2 separate regions of the Homo sapiens genome follow, and region 2 is linked to region 1. The links are contacts of gene promoters, found by promoter capture Hi-C in blood cells and fetal thymus (Javierre and others, 2016). All regions are on one chromosome and are shown on one strand. The core of a region is centred on a gene start or on the middle of the fragment in contact, and the rest is flanking DNA. Distances in the headings are between cores, read along the strand shown. Region 1 holds the start of ZBED5 (zinc finger BED-type containing 5). Region 2 overlaps USP47 (ubiquitin specific peptidase 47).

What was found. Contacts are between HindIII fragments. The CHiCAGO score rates a contact against its expected background, and 5 or more counts as called.
Region 2: a contact is called between a fragment that was not itself captured here and the fragment with the promoter of ZBED5 in region 1, in 1 of 17 cell types (activated CD4 T cells). The highest score is 7.5, in activated CD4 T cells.

The regions. Positions count from the first base shown.
Region 1 is chr11:10,856,667-10,859,366 of GRCh38, reverse strand. ZBED5 (zinc finger BED-type containing 5) reads left to right here and starts at 1,314. Exons shown (of 3, transcript NM_001143667.2): 1 at 1,314-1,505. ZBED5-AS1 (ZBED5 antisense RNA 1) reads right to left here and starts at 1,150. Exons shown (of 3, transcript NR_034137.1): 1 at 1,001-1,150. RefSeq lists enhancers at 1-477, 879-968, 478-1,115, 1,269-1,648. The HindIII fragment of the contact is 21,619 bases long and covers 1-2,180 here.
Region 2 is chr11:11,896,808-11,899,666 of GRCh38, reverse strand. USP47 (ubiquitin specific peptidase 47) reads right to left here. Exons shown (of 28, transcript NM_001282659.2): 5 at 1,974-2,070. Among named protein-coding and RNA genes, the nearest start is that of USP47, 56 kb to the right of the region's middle. The HindIII fragment of the contact is 807 bases long and covers 916-1,722 here.

The DNA.
Region 1 (2,700 bases), core at 65-2,564:
ACATTTGGAACTAAATGTCAGTCCTAGGAAATTATGCACTCCTGTAAATTGTGCTATTAAGGGTTAGGTTTCTTTCAACACTTTAGATATTTGATCAGAAGCATATTTAAGAAAAACGAAAGCTGCCCTTGCTTTTGACCCCAAGTTGAGAATTTTCTATCATTGGTGCAGTGCCTGAAAATACGATCCAATCTTCATTTAGTCATTTGTACGGAGTCTGGAAAGGCTAAAACATTGCAAATAATAGGACCTACTCGTACTTTCCCCGCTTAAGAAGCGTATCTATTTCAAGGTGCCTATTTGGAAAAACAGACTCCAGGTCTCCACCACAGAACTTAACACAAAATGAAAGCACACAACCCGCAGCCTTTGGCTGTGGTGTTTTTGAAAACAAGGAAGGGCACAGAACCATGGCTTAAAATACCCGAAAGCTGCAGCCCACAAAAAGAGTATTTCAGGGCGGGTTGGCCGTTCCCTGCAGGCAAACGTTCGGTGCAGGCGGCCGGGCGTTCCTGCGGGGAGGGCGCCACTGTGATGCAAAGACATCAAGCGGACTTTCAGCTTGCCCGTGGACGCTGCGGTGCCGCTTTCCCTATCCAGTCCTGTTCCCGCGGCTCCCCAGCCTACCCCGGGCCGACCAAGAGGTCCGGCGGGGTCTGCGCCGCATCAGCGCCCGCTCGTCAGGCCTAGCCCTCCGCACAGCCAAGGCCGACCAGACCTCTAGACACTCCGTCGTCGGGTGTGGGGCGGAGAAGTAAAGGGCGAGTTTTCTTCCTAGATTCCAGTGGGAACCAAGAAAAGGAGTTGGCAGCTGTGTAAACTGGACCTGGGGTGCGGCCTCCGGGAACAAAAGAGGTGATAAATGCACAGCAGCCGAGGTTCTGCGTGCTCCTTTGGGGCCACTACGAATCCCCGTGAATCACCCCAGCCCGGGCAGAGGGCCAGAAATGATGAAAATGCAGATTCATGGCTTCCACTCCAGCCCTACAAGATCACCAACCGTATCTGGCAGTACCCAGGAATCTGCATTCTCGACAAGCGTCCGCGCCGACGGGGCTAGTGAAGTTTGAGAACAATTGCTTCCTACCCAGCCGCTCCGCTATCACCTAGGTAGCACGGCCGCTGCGGCTGAGGCTGTGACTGCGGCTGCGGCTGGGCCGCGCCTCAACCGAGCTTGGTCCTTTCCTTTGGTCCCGCCCCGCTGCTCAGCGCGGATTGGTGGCGGGACGCAAATCTGGCGCTGATTGGGCGGCGGCAGAGTCGCTCGTGAAGATTGTAGGGTTCGGGTGCTCTAGAGTGCTAAATTTATCTTCAGACCGGCGACCGCGCCAGCCGCGAATCGGATCTCTATGGAGATGGCCTAGGCGATATCCCTGAGCTGAGAGCATCACCCTGTCCCCGAATCCTTCTTTCCTCTCTGTTTTGTTTTTCATTCCCCTCCCTCTCTCCCCTCCCCCTCCAGTCCACGACGACTGGCTGTTGACCCTGTTCAGGCCTCGGTGAAGGTGAGAAGCAGAGCCGCCGCCGCGGCTAAGCGGTGCGCTCTGAAATGGCCGCTTCCTGGAACTGCCTAAGATGGCGGTCGCGGGCTCTGCTGTGGACCGCGGCGCTGCTGTGCAGCCCAGCCGCGGCAAAATCCGTTCTCTCCATCGCTGATGGAGATGAAATAGAGAGATGGTGTTGGGTGCTGAGACGTTTTCATGTGGTCGTTAGCGCAGGCGGCCGCCCGGGGACGCGAGAGAAGACCTGAGGCGAGGGTGGGCTGCGACTGGTAGGGAGCCCCCCAGTCGTGGCAATCTGTGGGCAGCGCGCACCTGTGACAGGGAGGAGCTGAGGGATAGTTGGCCCTGGCTGCACATCCAGGTGACCGTTTAAAAAAGCATTTAGGTGTTGGAAGGAGCATCTGTTCCCACCTTTTTGGCTGGCCTGCACTCAGATCCTGTCCTCCTGACCCTGAGGGTATTGTTCCCAGCCGGAACCGCCCGAAGATAGGGGAGAAAGGATTGTGATACTTGTCAGTTTAACCGGAAGGAGACTAAAGACGGAAGTTTTCCCCGCTCTTCAGGGAGTGGAAAGGAAACTTTACTCTCAAAGGAGTCCAGATTCTTTGTCCTCGAGAAATTCGGGGAAACACCTTCGAAGAGGTGGGGTTGAGGACCTTCTTTCTGAAAACAAAAGCTTCCTACTCTTCTGTGTCCTCTGGCAACGAGAGGGATCCTGATCTTTTACGTGAACCAGCAGCTCCACAGAGTTCTCCGTTGCAAAATCCAAAAGGAGACTGTGGAAGGAGAATCTGCTTTTTTGCTCCCAATAAGAAGCAGGGCTTTATGCTGTTGCTAGTATGAGACCCTCGACTTTCTGGCAGTTATAATCCATTGTTCATCCGTTTCGCTGCATAACCCAACTCCTAGTAACGAGATTTTTTAGTAGTTGGGGAATTAAAAGTATTCAGGAACACCCAAGTAATGGCTAGACACATGGGCTATGCAGTCAAACTTTTTGGGCTCTGAACTTGGTTTTTCACTTACAAGAGGTGTTAGCGAGATGTGTTAACCTGTGTCTGTTTATCTCTAAAGTGGGGTTATTAATAATCCTTGTGTCTTCATAGATGAGATAATCTATATGAGGGATTTAGCAGTAATTGGCATACAGTAAACAATCATCAGTCATTAGACATTGTTTACCTGAGGAGATTGGTCA
Region 2 (2,859 bases), core at 70-2,569, 1.0 Mb before region 1:
GCTCTTACTGTAAATCTTTAGAGGGCTTGTTCCTGTGAAGTTCCTGGAATGTCCTCAGGGAGGCCCTTACTGTCTACTACCTGAAGCTGTGACCCTCCCCTCCTCTTCTCCTGACAATTACTCCCTCCACATTACTCAGCTTTATTTTCTACCTGGCATACATGATTCTGTGAAATGAGCTTATATATAGGTTTACCTAAGGAAGCTCTAAATGAGGTACTTTCTCTTACTCATCACTCTAATCCTTATACCTAAAAGAATGCCTAGCACACAGTAAATGTCCAATACATGTTTGCTGATGAATAGCCCTGGCTATGCTCTTAATTTCCTCTACAGTGCTGTAAATTTACAGTCCACTTTCAGAGTATTAAAACAGATGGTTAAACAAGTGCCCAGGATCCCCATTCCTGTGCATACTCCCTAAAACAGGCACATTGTCCAACGATCTGGTCTGTGCTAGTTTTGAGAGCAGGCTCTGAACTCTATTTATTAACCTCATCCTCCAGTACTCTGACAAAACTCTGGTTATGCTGATCTCCTGAAGCCCCCCGCAACACACTGTGCTTATTGGCATCCGCTAGTGCACAGGCAGAACAGAGTAGTGAATCCTGGCATCTACTAGGTGCAACTTCTAGCAGTGTGCTTTCAGGCAAAGCTATATTTCTCTGTGCCTTCAGTTACCTTCTTTGTAAAATGCGGACAATAATAGCATAAAATTCATACAGTTACTATGAGAATTAAGTGAGTCTATATATAAAGTGCTCGGAACACTATCTGATACAAACAATGACTAACACTCAGGTAGCCCTTCCTATTATTCACTTTCACTTTTGACAGGCCTCCTATCTGCACAGTGTATTCTCTTTCTTCTCAACCTGGCCAAACCATATCTAGCTTCATGACCTACCTGAAGCTTACTTTCTTCTCCAAGTTTCACCAACCTTTCTTCTCTTTAAACTCTAATGGTATTTGGCTGTCTTTAAATGTTATTTAAACTATTTCAAACATATACATATTGCTATTGTAGAAAGACTTATAAATTACTCAAGAACAAAGATCTTATTACTAATTCCCTCTCTATCCACCAAGTGCCTAGCATTTAAACACTACAGGGCAATACATGCATACAGAATGACAAATACATCAACTTCTGTAAGTTCAGATAACAAGCTGACAGATTAATCTAATGGTGATATAATGTTGAGTAACACAATCAGCAATATTAAAAGTTCCAAAAATAACCTAAATACATATTTACAGTAATTTAAAGATGTTAGTGGAAAGTAACACAAAAAAGGAAAAAAAAATCAGTTTACTCATACTTAAAAGTATCCTTAAAAACTAAAAAATTATGTGTTTATCTTAAAGAAAATATACAAAGCAAAGGTGTGTTAAATGTGTCATAATAGGATATTCATAAAAATAAATGTCTGACTTCAGGGTTTACTTAAACATAGACTTCCTCCATAGAGCATTTTAAACTATCTAATGTATATGGAGTCTTTTAGAAGGAAACACACACACACACACGCACACACACGCACATGAAACAAGCTGTAAGTATTATATTTTAATTAGAAACAAAACTTGCAAGTTAAAAAAAAACTTTGGATACTTAAATTGAGAGGTGGAAGGAGAGTATGGATTTATATATTCGAATTCTCTCAAAAGCAGTTATTTATTTCTTCATAAAGGGTGTTAAGGCTACAAGAGAGGGAAGCTTTTTACCCTACATGTAAATCTCATCAATTTTATCCTTTTGCTCTCTATATACTTCTGATTCTCTCTCCGCACACATTTTTCATATACCTGTTTTTCACAAGATCTTTGTTATTACGTAAGGAAAGAAGTTATATCTTATGGTGTGAGAAATGCCCCAAACTTTAAAATAACTGCAAGAAGATAAATTTTGTTAAAAGTGATATTTTCATTCTTAAATCAATTTTATGTATACAATTTTTTTGAATACTCACTTATATAATGCATTCCTAAATTCAGGAGTCATAAAAAGTGTTTGCAAAAGGCTATTCAAATAGCAAGTCATTGCTTGGTTTACTAGTCCCACATATCCTTTAAAGAGAAAATACAAATGTACATTAATCAGCATTTACATTAAAAATAACAAAAACATAATAAGAATTTAATTCACAGTAAAGATTCAGAGGTTAAAGTTACTACTCATTTGGAAATTATTTCAACTTGTTCAACAGCACCTAAGAAAAGATCCCTTTTCTAATATGTGCTCTAAGTAAGCTTTGTTTTGTAGAAAATGTCAGGATACCTTGTTATAGATATGTCCAGAGGTACACATGGAGATTATATGACATTAACATTTTAAGAGTAATATGTTCAGTAAAGTATGTGTTACTGGCATAGACATAAACTTTTTCCCCCAAAATCTAAACGTTTAAACATATTAAACTTTTAAACATATTAAACTAGATTATAATGGAAAAGCATAAACATATTCACTTTAAACAGCACCACACACATCCAGTGTAGAAAGACTATACAGAACCAGTTACCCCTGTCATCAAGCCCTATAAGCCAATTTCTGTAAGAATGAATAACATACGAGATAAATTCACTACATGCAAACTCACAAAAGCTGAGACTCTAAGTAATGCAGAGTGACTTCATCTGTTTCAACAAGCCTGTCAATGAAATTCTATAGATCAGCATGCTGTGCAAAGGGTGATATGTATCCACACCATCTGTACTTATAGGATTCCAAGAAAAGACCAAGCATGGTAGCTATCTGCTTTTCACTTTGTACTAAGGTTCAAGCTTTTATTTTTTTCACCTTTATTTTAAGAACCGTGTATGCATGGGTGGTTTATATCTTAATCTACATCATTG